Regions from separate parts of the Homo sapiens genome. Here region 2 is linked to region 1. The links are contacts of gene promoters, found by promoter capture Hi-C in blood cells and fetal thymus (Javierre and others, 2016). All regions are on one chromosome and are shown on one strand. Each heading gives the region's core, a stretch centred on a gene start or on the middle of the fragment in contact. The rest is flanking DNA. Distances are from core to core; before and after follow the strand shown.

Region 1 (6,308 bases), core at 2,353-4,852:
GAGACCCTTGACAGTGTCCTAGGGCAGGCTCTGGAGTCAGACCCAGGGAAAACCTAAGCTCTGGATTTCCAGCTGTGTGTCCTTGGGCAAATTACAGAACCTCTCTGGGCCTCAGATTCTCTAGGGTACCATGGGAGTCATGATTCTTATACCTCCTGGGGGTGCTGCAAGGTAAAAGTCAACCCAAAATATGTTAAAACACTTTATAAATCTTGTATAAGGCCGGGCGCAGTGGGTCACGCCTGTAATCCCAGCACTTTGGGAGGCCGAGGCAGGCGGATCATGAGGTCAGATTACCATCCTGGCTAATACGGTGAAACCCCATCTCTACTAAAAACACAAAAAAATTAGCCGGGTGTGGTGGCGGGCGCCTGTAGTCCCAGCTACTCGGGAGGCTGAAGCAGGAGAATGGCGTGAACCAGGGAGGCAGAGCTTGCAGTGAGCCGAGATCACGCCACTGCACTGCAGCCTGGGCAACAGGGGAAGACTCCTCAAAAAACACAAAAAAAATCCGGTATAAAAAGGTGGTACACAAATATCATTGATCTCTTTGTAGCAAGGTATTGTGGGGGCTGAGTGGGACTTCCTTCTGGACAACAGAGGGGAGCAGAGAGCTCTGGGACTACCACAGAGAAGCTGTCAGAAAGCAAAGGGAGACCGGGCCCAGGGGCTCAGGTATGTAATCCCAGCACTTTGGGAGACCAAGGTGGGAGGCTCGCTTGAGCTGAGGAGTTCAAGAGCAGCCTGGTCAACATAGTGAGACCTTGTCTCTACAAATAATTTAACAATTAGCCAGGTGCAGTGTTGCACGCCTATACTCCCAGCTACTTAGGAGGCTGAGGCAGGAGGATCTCCTGAGCCCAGGAGGTCGAGGCGCAGTGAGTCATGATCTGGCCACTGCATTCCAGCCCGAGCAAGACTGTCTCAAAAAAAAAAAAAAAATTGTAAAGCAAAGGGAGGGACTAGGCTTAAGTGCCAGCGAAGTATCCAAATTCCTGATCCTTTCCCCAGCTGTTACTTTGTTAACCCCTGCCTTCCTGCAGAACACTGACTTGGCCTTTTCCTGCTGAGGGTCTGAGACAGCCGTGCTATAATTAATGAACGAATGTCTCCCCAGCCAGACTGTAAGCTCACCAAGGACCTCTCCCCACCCTCACTGGTCTCATTTACACATTATAACTGCACCTGGGACAGAGTAGACATTCAATAAAATATGCTAGATGGCCTGAGATGGATAAATTACCTCTCTATCCTAAAACTCCACATATGCACAGAATTTCAGGGTGTTCACAGTTCCCTTAGTATTCATGAATGCTGGGTAAGAACCACTGTCCTTAAAAGACCTTGGGGGTTATCTCTGAGGGGAGCTGGGGAGCTGGGAAGATCTGGGCTCCTTCTCCACGGAGACCCTAAGCAGTGGGGAGTTTTTCTGAGGTCCGCCCCCCACTGGTACCTGTTGATGATGTTGGGCAGGAAGCAGAAGAAGAACTTCTCAGGGATTGGGATGAAGGGCAGCAGCCCCAGGTAGTAGGAAAGCAGCACCCAGAATCCTCGGCTTATTGTGAAGGACAGGGGCATCTCGGGGTTCTGGGGAGGCAAGGAGAGGCATGAGAATCTGTCTGCTCTGGGGAAGCAGAGAGGAGGCATGAGCTGCAGGGGAGCCGTGGTGGGCATTCCAGAGGCCCTACTACCTGCAGGATCCAAGTCACATCTTGGGGCTGGGTGTGGTGGCTCACGCCTGTAACCTCAGCAGTTTGGGAGGCTGAGGCAGGTGGATCACCTGAGATCAGGAGTTCAAGACCAGCCTGGCTAACATGGTAAAACCCCATCTCTACTAAAAATACAAAAATTAGCTGGGCGTGGTGGCGTGCACCTGTAATCCCAGCTACTCGGGAGGCTGAAGCATGAGAATCGCTTGAACCCAGGAGGCAGAGGTTGCAGTGAGCCGAGGTCGCACCACCGCACTCCAGCCTGGGCGACAGAGAGAGACTGTGTTTCAAAAAAGAAAAAAAACAAAAGTCACATCTTGGCTCTGTGTTCGAGGCCTGAGTTCACACCCTTTTCATTGCCACCGCCACGCCACTGGGAACTCTCCCAGACCCCTCTAGCTCGGGTCCCCATGCTGGGTGGGCTCCAGCTCTGGGGAGGAGGGGCCCCTGGAGGAGGAAGAGGACGGGGGAGGGGTGGGGGGACTCACGGCAGCCTTGCATTTCTTCATGACCGAGCTCTTCTCCGAGGCCCAGATGGTGATTTCATTACGGTCATAGCGTCTCACCAAGCCTGCTATCTGGGAGGAGGAGAAGGAGGTGAAGGGAGAGCCAGGCCTCTCTCACGCCCCCGGTGGCCGCCCTAGCCCTGCCTGCAGCACCACCTCACGGATGAGCTCTTCGTTCTTCCCTTTGATCTCTACGCTCATGGGTGTCCTTGGAAACCTCTGGAACAGGTCCTCCAGACGAACCATGCGCCGGTCTGACCCGTGAGCAAAGTGGCCTGGGGGTGGTGTGGGAAAAGGGGTCAGAGGGAAGCCAAGGCGGAGGTCCAAGGAAGGCAGGCATGGCCCAGGCAGGGCTCGAAGCCCTTGCTCTCACCTGGAGAGAAGTAAACCTCCAGCTTCTCCTTGTAGAGGGGCAGGTCCTGGGGAGGACAGGAAGGATGTCACTAGAGGCCCGCATTGGGCATGGTGACTCTCAGGGTGGGGGTTGGGGTGTCAGGGCAGGGCCCACCTCGAAGTCCAGGCTGCCCACATCCCTGTTTAGGCCCGACTGGCGGCACAGGTTCTCATCATGTGACACCACCACCACTCTGTCCCGTGTCAGCTGACAGTCGAGCTCCAGGAGGTCCGAGCGCTGGGCCATGGAGCTGTGGGGGTGAAGGTCAGCGGGGGGCAGGGGCAGGGGACTGGGATGAGGGGCATGGTGGCTGGGAGGTGGCCGGGAATGTGAGAGCGGAGTTCGTGGCGGGATGTGCAGGCCACCTCCAGGGGGCGCCAGTCACCCAGCTAGGAAGTGAATGGCGTCCCTTGCTGTGATGCAGTCCACGACCTGCACACCCTCACATGGCAGCCTGGGCAGGGGCAGATACACTCACTTCTCCATGGCCTCCATGGTGTTCTCCAGCAGCTCTCCAGATCCTGTGGGGGGCACTGGAGTGGGCCTCTGGGGCTTGGGGTCTAGGGGCCTGGCCCAACCTCATCACCCACATTCCCTCTCTGGGCTCCATCCTCCCTCTGGCCTCACCTCCCCAGCCAGCCCAGGCTGCGCCAGCATCTTCTTCCTCGTCCACACCCTGCCCTGCCACTTCGCTCTCCTTCTCTCTTGGTCCCTGCCCCGTTTCTAGCATGCCCCCTTGGACCTACCCCTCTGTGCTGTCCACTTTGGCACCTGTTCTCACCCCTACCCGGCTCACCTCCTCGGTGGGCCCCCAGGCGGATGCGGAAGGTGGGAGCCCTGGGCGTGTGCAGCAGATGAGGCCGGCGCAGGAAGAAGATGGAGAGCATGGCATAGCTGCCCAGGGCAGGGAGGGCATAGTACAGCAAAAGGCTCATGACCGTACTCCCACAGAAGCTCCTGCAGCCACACGCTCAGCCGTCCGCGGGACTGTGCTGCCTGCCTAGCCAGTGTGGGCCGGCTCTACTACTGGCCACTGCCACGCCCCTGGGACCTGCTGAGCCTGCCGCTGGGCTGGCTTGGAGCCAGGCTGCAGGGTTCGGCTGAAGCTGGGGTAGTGTCAGGAGGTGAGGCAAGTAGCCCTGGCTCTCATATCCCCAGGCCCTTCCCAGCCCCCAGCAGCCCCGTCCTGGGCTACATGAGGGGAGTAAAAACCACCCAGGACTGTCAGGACCTCTCCCTCTCACTGGTACTTGTAGCCAGCGCATCCAACATGCCTACCCCTTGCCATTTCAGAGGATCCAGGGGTGTGTAGGGTGCTCCTGAGTCACCCCGAATCACCCCCAGCCAGTTAGACAGGAAGCCATTAGCGAGAGGACAGGACAGTGACTAAGGGGAAAACTGACCCCCTTCTTTCTAGGAGTCTGGAGCTCTCCAGAGCCCCGTCCCCAGCCCTGGGCAGCTGGGAGTGAAGGGCACCAGGCCCCTGAAAGCCCAAGTCAAGTCTGTCCTCAGAGCCGCACGGGGCAGGGCGGGGGCGTCGCGAACACAGACAGAGCCAGGGTCAGCCATAGACACATCTCTATATTTATATATTAGACGGGTCAGGGAGGTGGCAGGGGCGCCGGGCTCTCCACGCCCCCCAGCTCCACTTCTGCTCACCACACACAGAAGCAGCGAGGGCACGCGAAGTGACAGCTTTGACAGGGAGGGGATTCGGCCCGGCCTGGCTCCTCAGGGATGCTAGCCCTTGAGACTAAGGAATGTTCCTTCAGGGAAACTAGGGTGGGGTTTGAATGAGATGAGGGGGGCAGGCATGGCCCTGAGTCCCTACTCAGCGCCCCCCACCCTCCACCTCTGCCCTTCAGCAGGTTGGGGCAGCCAGAACCCTTCCATTCCAGAACTGCCAGAGACTGGGACGCTGGGGAAGGTAAGGGCGCAGCAGCAGCAGCGGGAGATTGAACTGGGGCCACCTGAGGTCCCGAGGCCCCGTGGGGAGGGCGGGTGGGGAGGAGAAGGCCTTGGCCTGCCTGAAGCTGGAGGCCTCAGCAAAGGAGAGAGGTGGCCAGGCCCATGCTCCACCCCGGCCTGGGCTGCCAAGGTCCGGGCTGGGCACAGTGTCCATTTTCTAACAGTCTGGCGGGAGAGGGGCAGGCAGGAGGCAGGTCCTAAAGAGAGAAGCAGGCAGAAGAGGAGTCGTTAGCACCCCCCGGGCAGACCCACTGGAGCCCTGACCTCAACATCTCTCATTTCACCCTCACAGCTGGATAGGCTGGGTCTCAGTTTCCTTATCTGTAAATGGAGATAATAATAGTACCTAGCTTGAGGTACTGCTGTAAGATTAAAGGAATTAATACATGTAAACCTCTTAGAACAATGCTTAGGGCTTTATGCTTTCATTATTAGAACTGTCTCGGCCGGGCACAGTGGCTCACGCCTATAATCCCAGCACTTTGAGAAGCTGAGGTGGTGGATCGCTTGAGCCCAGGAGTTTGAGACTGGCCTGGGCAACATAGCAAGACCCCAGCTCCACAAAAAAAAAAAAAAAAAATTAGCCGGTTGCAATGGCTCGTCCAGCTAGCTGGGAGGATCCCTTGCACCCAGGAGTTTTGAGGCTGCAGTGAGCTATGATTGCACCACTGCATTCCAGCCTGGGTGACAGAGCGAGACACTGTCTCAAAAAAACAAAACCAAAAAAAAAGATAAATAGATTGACTCCGGAAACTGAGGCGCCGAGAGGTGAGGTGCCTTGCCCAATATCACACAGCACTTACTAAGTGGCACAGCTGGAGTTTGAGCCCAGGTGCGCATGCCTTCTTTCTATCAGGCCACACCTGGCTGAAGACAGGAAGAGACCGGAGGAGGCAAGGAGGCAGCGTGGGTGGGGGCAGGCCAGTGGGGTCCCCACAGCTATGTGAACTGCTGATCTGGCAGCAGGTGTGAGGAGGCCTGGCAATCTGGGTCAGGCTGGGCGCTGCTGGGCCCCTCCCAAAGCAATCATGGCCCCACCTGCTTCTGCCACACCCAGAGCTGAAGCTTGGCTCAGGTCCTCACCTGGGTGACAGAGGCCCTCAGTGACCTCTTGCCTCTTTGCCAGTTCTGTTCCTAGAAGGAGATTAGAATGGCTTGTGGGGCTGGAGGATGCAAGGTGTTGACAGGCAGAGACATTTGGGGCTGGAGGACTCGGTGGGCCACCAGTCTGGGCAGCCTTGGGCATTTTTTTTTTTTTTTTTGAGATGGAGTCTTGCTCTGTAGTCCAGGCTGGAGTGCAGTGGTGCGATCTCGGCTCACTGCAACCTCTGCCTCCTGGGTTCAAGCAATTCTCCTGCCTCAGCCTCCTGAGTAGCTGGGATTATAGGCATGTGCCACCACACCCAGCTCATTTTTGTATTCTTTACAGTAGAGACCGGGTTTCACCATGTTGGCCAGGCTGGTCTCAACTCTTGACCTTGTGATCCACCCACCTCGGCCTCCCAAAGTGCTGGGATTACAGGCATGAGCCACTGTGCCCAGCCCTTTTTTTTTTTTTTTTGAGAGAGTCTCACTGTTGCCCAGGCTGGAGTACAGTGGTGCAACCTCCGCCTCCCAGGTTCAAGCAGTCCTCCCACCACAGCCTCCTGAGTAGCTGGGACTAGAAGCGCATGCCTACGTGCCCGGCTAATTTTTGTATTTTTAGTAGAGACAGGGTTTCACCACGTTGGC
Region 2 (6,342 bases), core at 3,814-6,313, 500 kb after region 1:
CCCGGACGTCTGCCTAGGAATCAGTCGGGGTTTGCTGGGCCTCCGGCCTCGCTTCCCCTTTCGGGGTGCCTCCTTAGGCGGGAATACTTCCTTCTCCCCATTCTTCTTTCTGGTTCTGCTTTCTATAGAAATACAGAAGCATTAATTTAACAAATACTGGGCTCCTGCTCTTGTCAATTACATTATAGGTTACAAGACCAATAGACTCACCCCCTGGTCTCAATTCCTAGTGCCACAGACAGCTAAGTGTGACATACTGTCATGCAAATACGGTGTGCATTACAGGAGCTTCTAACCCAGCTTGGAGAAGTCTAGGAAGATTTCTCGGAGATTAAACTAACTTTAAAAATTGAGGCCGGGCACAGTGGATCACGCTTGTAATCGTAAGCACTGGGAGGCCGAGGCGGGCAGATCACAAGGTCAGGAGTTTGAGAGCAGCCTGACCAACATGGTGAAACCCTGTTTCTACTAAAAATACAAAAATTAGCCGGGCGTGGTGGCACGCACCTGTAATCCCAGCTACCCAGAAGGCTGAGGCAGGAGAATCGCCCGGGAGGCAGAGGTTGCAGTGAGCCGAGATTGTGCCACTGCACTCCAACCTGGGCGAGAGAGCGAGATTCCATCTCAAAAAAAAAAAAAAAAGGAATATTTTTGAAGAGGTAAGCTTACATCATTCAAAAGTCAAAATATCAGCCAGGCATGGTTGCTCATGCCTGTAATCCCAGCACTTTGGGAGCCCAAGGCAAGAGATCGCTTGAACCCAGGAGTTCAAGATCAGCCTGGGCAGCATAGTGAGACCCCATCTCTACAAAAAATACAAATATTAGCCTGGCCTGGTGGCACGCGTGCCTGCCTGTAGTCCTAGCTACTTGGAAGGCTGAGGTAGAGGATTACTTGAGCCCAGGAGTTCAAGGCTACTGTGAACCATGATGGCACCACTGTACTCCAGCCTGGGCAACACAGCAAGACCCTATCTCAAAAAACAAACAAGTCAAAATATTAATAAAGGAATACAGAGAAGTCTTGCTGCCACCTTTTTCCAATCTACCTTGTAGAAACCATATTAGTTTTTTCCCATTTTTTTGATGCAATACAAATGTCACCTTCCCTATCTTTCTTTCATAAGAGATTGCATACACATGCTTTACAGCGTATGTTCTCTTCCCCACCTTTCTTTTTTTTTTTCTTTTTTGAGACAGAGTCACGCTCTGTCACCCAGGCTGGAGTGCAATGGTGTGATCTCAGTTCACTGAAATCTCCGCCTCCCGGGTTCAAGTGATTCTCCCTGCCTCAGCCTCCTAAGTAGCTGGGATTACAGGCATGCACCACTATGCCCAGCTAATTTTTTGTATTTTTAGTAGAGTCAGGGTTTCACCATGTTGGCCAGGTTGGTCTCGAACTCCTGACCTCAGGTTATCTGCTCACCTCTATCTCCCAAAGTGACTACAGGCGTGAGCCACCATGCCCAGCTCACCTTTCTTATACAAAAGACAACATATACACACCTTATACACACTTTACATTTTTTCACTTAATATATTCTAAAGATCATTTTATGTCAGCAAATCTTTTTTCTATTTTACAGCTACACAGAATTCCATTGTGGATGGTTTATTTGACTTAGCTGATTCTTTAAAAAATGTGGCTGGGCGTGGTGGCTCATGTCTGTAATCCTAGCACTTTAGGAGGCTGAGGCAGGCGGATCACCTGAGGTCAGGAGTTCAAGACCAGCCTGGCCAACATGGTGAAACCCCGTCTCTACAAAAATATAAAAATTAGCTGGGCACAATAGCAGGTGCCTATAATCCCAGCTACCCAGAGGCTGAGGTGGGAGAATCACTTGATCCTGGGAGGCGGAGGTTGCAGTGAGCCAAGATCACGCCATTGCACTCCAGCCTGCATGACAGAGTGAGACTCCATCTCAAAAAAAAAAAAAAAAAAAAAAAAAAGAATTAAAATTATGCAGTGTTAGAAACGTAAGTCCCAGCCAAGCGCAGTGGCTCATTCCTATAATCCCAGCACTTTGGGAGGCCAAGGTGGGCGGACTGTGAGGTCAGGAGTTCGAGACCAGCCTGGCCAACATGGTGAAACCCCGTCTCTACTAAAAATACAAAAATTAGCCGTGCATGCTGGCGGGCGCCTGTAATCCCAGCTACTTGGGAAACTGAGTCAAGATGATTACTTGAAACCGGAAGGCAAAGGTTGCAGTGAGCCAAGATTGCACTACTACACTCCAGCCTGGGTGGAAGAGCAAAACTCCGTCTCAAAAAAAAAAAAGAAAAGAAACATAAGTCCCAAGGCTCAGTGTACAGTGTGCACAGGCCCTAAGATCTTCTTAGACACAAAGTGTAAAAGCAAGACAGGCTGGGCGCGGTGGCTTACACCTGCAATCCCAGCACTTTGGAAGGCCAAGGCAGGCGGATCACCTGAGGTCAGGAGTTCGAGACCAGCTTGACCAATATGGAGAAACCCTGTCTCTACTAAAAATTAGCCGGGTGTGATCGTGGGCACCTGTAGTCCCACCTACTCCAGAGGCTGAGACAGGAGAATTGCTTGAAACCGGGAGCAAGAGGTTACAGTGAGCTGAGATCGTGCCACTGCACTCCTGCCTGGGCAACAGAGCAAGACTCCGTCTCACACACACACAAAAGAGTGTAAGGCAAGATATGGAAACCTATGAGGTATGAGCTAGCAGTGACTGGGTCAAAAGGCCCTCTAAGCCAATGGTTCTCAAACTCCACTGTGATCAGAATCATTGGGAGGATTTACTGAAACAGAATGCCAGGCCCTAGTGCCCGCTTTGGATTCAGCAGGTCTGGGGTAGGGTCCAAGAATGTGCATTTCTAACAAGTTTCCAAATAATGCTGCTTCTGGTCTGAGACCACGCTTTGAGAACCACTGCTGTTAGCATTGTTAAAGACCTTGGACTGTATTTTACCCAATGGTTTTCTTTTCTTTTTTTTTTTCCCCCAAGATGGAGTCTCACTGTGGCACCCAGGCTGGAGTACACTGGCATGATCTCGGCTCACTGTAACTTCCACCTCCCAGGATCAAGCAATTCTCCCTGCCTCAGCCTCCTGAGTAGCTGGAATTACAGGCGCCCACCATAGTGCCCGGCTAATTTTTGTATTTTTTTAGTAGAGACGGGGTTTCACGATGTTGGTCAGGCTGGTCTTGAACTCCGGACCTCAAGTGATCTACCCACCTCGGCCTCCCAAAGTGCTGGGATTACAGGCATGAGCCACCAGCCGGCCGGTTTTCAAACCTAGATGCACATCTGAATCAGCTGAGGCTATTTAAAAAATGGAAGTTCCTAAACATTCACACGAGTGAATGAATAGCTCTGGGATGGGGTCCTGGAACCTGCGTTTTTACCAAGTTCCCCAAGTGATTTAGATATAACCAATGGCCATTTAACAACCTTGGCAAAAATTAACTGAAAAGTTTTAAGCAAGGAAATATCATGGTCAGATCTGAATCTTGGACAGCTATCCCTGGTCTTGAAGAATCTGGCTCTGAAATTCCAGCCCAGACAGCTCCATCTTCTACTATGGGTGGATCTGGGACCCTTCTACCTGAATGGGGTTAAGCAGAGCCTTGTTGGATTCTGAGGAGATTGCAGTATGTCCTTCGCTGATAAGGGTCATCCTGCCGTAAGAGCAGAAAGAGGCCCCTGCATCCCAGGCAGCTGTTCCCCATGAGCTCCCTTCAACCAAAACCCAGAAAACTCTGAGAAGTTTAGGATCTCTTTGGTCCAACTCAAAGGTGGCTAGAGGCAGAGATCCTGGAAAGGAGGCAGAGGGTAGCACCTGTTAAAAGCTCACTGATTCTGGCTGGCTGCAATGGCTCACGCCAGTAACCCCTGCATTTTGGGAGGCCAAGGCAGGAGGATCGCTTGAGGCCAGAAGTTCAAGACCGAACTGAGCAAGACAATGTTTCTACAAAAAAAAAAAAAAAAAAAAAAGACGAAGAATAAGCCCACTGATTCATTCACACAGTGGAAAACTGCAGCTTGCAGACTGACATAGGAATCTCTGTGTGGTGGACCGGCCCCACACCACCAGACACAAGAGGCTGGGAAGATGAATATACTAAATACGCGGCACCCACCCCTAGCCCAACCAAAACTCTGGACAGAGCCGTTAGAGGTAGAACGTTATAGGAGGGCTGCAGGCTCTGCGTGGTTATTTAGCACTCACTTCTCTGGACTGTTAGCCCTCTCGGGTACTCCTGCGGATCTAGAGCAGCCGGTTCCCAGTCATCGGTGTTTCGTTCCAACCAGGAGATGAGGGCTGGTTTGGGACCTGCGCACCCTGGGGAAAGAGAACAAATCAGAAGGCCAGCTCCTAGATCACGCCGAGTAGTATCTCCCCGACGGCACCTCCTGCTAAGCCCCTGCCCACCTCCCCTGACAACCTGGTCGCCTGCCAGGACCGTGGCCTCCCTGCCTACACCCTCTCCGGCTCCTGCATCCCTTCGCGCCCCGCGGCAGCGGATGGGGCCGGCCTCACCGAGCGCGCCCAGGTGACCGTAGGTCTCCCGCATCACGTCCCGGTACAGGGCCCTCTGCGCGGGCCGCAGGCAGCCCCACTCCTCCGGGGAGAAGTACACGGCCACGTCCACGAACTTCAGAGCCCTCGGCCTCCTGCCCCTTTTCCGACTGGGTCTGGCCTTTCCTGGTCCCTGCGCAGGGAGCGGAGCCGAAGGTGGCGCCATGGGACCCGAGAAGCCGGCGCCACGGCCTTCCGTGTCCAGGCCTCGGCCCTCGGGCGCTGGCGGCCCCTGGGATCGAGGAGCCCCTGCCGGACCAGGGCTGAGCGTGGCCGGGGAGGCCCGGAGGGAATCGGAATTGGTCGCCCGCGGGGCTAACGGAAACCTTTTGCTGTTATTCAGGAAACTCCTGCCCGAACTTGGGTGAAAGGCACCGGAAGATGCCTTCGGGGAAAATGGCGGCGCTGCTACCGCACCGCCTTTGCCTGGAACACAGGCAGCTTCCAGCTATCGATTTTATTGACCGGAGCGCCATGCCGGCTTCCTAACCTCTTTGCCCTCAAGTGTAATGGCGCTGCGATTGGGCTTCACGCCGTCTTTTTTCCCCTCCCCAATACGCGCGTTCATTGGACGAGAGCCGAAGATCGAGCGTTCTGATTGGGTGCTAGCAAAGGCGGTCCGTTTGAACGAAGCCAAGAGCTGCATAAGGGCAGGAAGCTGGACTGCTAGGATCAGGCGACTACAAGGAGTTGTGAAGCGACTTGCACCGACCTGGGGGCAGCAAGAGGCCCCGGGGCTGCTTTCCGCTGTTCGACTCTGGCAGGCTCAGCCAATCACTGAAGGAGGGAACGATTTGAGCGATGGAGCCACTCTGGCCGAGTTAGAGCTGAGATTATCCTGAGTTCCTTTTACTGGTGTTCTCAGAGCATCCTTGACTTTGGAGAATGGTTATCTTCTTTGTTTGCCCTTTAGGGGAGGGAATTATGGTTAGCATTTCCTGGGGGCAGGCGCCATGCCCAGCATATTACATATTTCATCTTTATTATTTTTTATTTTTATTTTATTTATTTATTTTTGAGACAGAGTCGTGCTCTGTCGCCCAGGCTGGAGTGCAGTGGCGAAATCTCGGCTCACTGCAGCTTCCACCTCCCACGTTCAAGCGATTCTCCTGCCTCAGCCTCCCGAGTAAGTGAGATTACAGGCGCGTGCCACCACTCCTGACTAATATTCATATTTATTAGCAGAGATGGGGTTTCACCATGTTAGCCAGGCTGGTCTCGAACTTCTGACCTCAAGTGATTCACCCACCTCGGCCCCACGAAGTGCTAGGATTACAGGCGTGAGCCACTATGCCCGGCCTTATTTTTATTTTTTTGAGACAGGGTCTCACTCTGTTACCCGGGCGGGATGGAATGCAGTAGTGCAATCTCAGCTCACTGCAGCCTCTAACTCCTGGGCTCAAGCAATCGTCCTGCCTCAGCCTTCAGAGTAACTGGGACTACTGGTGTGCACTACCACGCCTGGCTAATTTTTTATGTTATTTGTTGAGTCAGGGTTTCCCTGTGTTGCCCAGGCTGGTCTCGAACCCTTAGGCTAAGTGATCCTCCTGCCTCGTCCTCCCAAAGGGCTGGGATTACTGGCATAAGCCACAGCACCGGAGCCATTAGTTATTCGCTTTTTTTTTTTGAGACTGGGTCTCATTCCGTTGCCCAGGCTGGAGTGAAGGCATGCACCCACAGTGCTCTGCTAATTTTTTGTATTTTTGGTAGAGACGGTGTTTCGCCATGTTTCCCAGGCTGGTCTCGAACTCCTGAGCTCAAGCAATCCGCCCACCTCGGTCTCCCAAAGTGC

The links. The method cuts DNA at HindIII sites, captures the fragments that hold promoters and counts their contacts. A CHiCAGO score of 5 or more calls a contact.
Region 2: the fragment with the promoter of ZNF689 here is called in contact with the fragment with the promoter of GDPD3 in region 1 in 4 of 17 cell types (fetal thymus, total CD4 T cells, erythroblasts and 1 more); the score reaches 10.5 in fetal thymus.

Annotation. Positions count from the first base shown.
Region 1 is chr16:30,109,935-30,116,242 of GRCh38, forward strand. GDPD3 (glycerophosphodiester phosphodiesterase domain containing 3) reads right to left here and starts at 3,603. Exons shown (of 10, transcript NM_024307.3): 1 at 3,406-3,603; 2 at 3,088-3,130; 3 at 2,724-2,859; 4 at 2,589-2,634; 5 at 2,372-2,490; 6 at 2,198-2,287; 7 at 1,454-1,587. The coding sequence starts at 3,544. MAPK3 (mitogen-activated protein kinase 3) reads right to left here. Exons shown (of 9, transcript NM_002746.3): 9 at 4,171-4,774. RefSeq lists a silencer at 3,574-3,868. The HindIII fragment of the contact is 12,096 bases long and covers 1-5,640 here.
Region 2 is chr16:30,605,326-30,611,667 of GRCh38, forward strand. ZNF689 (zinc finger protein 689) reads right to left here and starts at 5,064. Exons shown (of 3, transcript NM_138447.3): 1 at 4,512-5,064; 2 at 4,200-4,313; 3 at 1-122. The coding sequence starts at 4,716. LOC124903678 (a long non-coding RNA gene) reads left to right here and starts at 5,149. Exons shown (of 2, transcript XR_007065051.1): 1 at 5,149-5,438. RefSeq lists a silencer at 4,754-4,803 and an enhancer at 5,091-6,060. The HindIII fragment of the contact is 6,999 bases long and covers 663-6,342 here.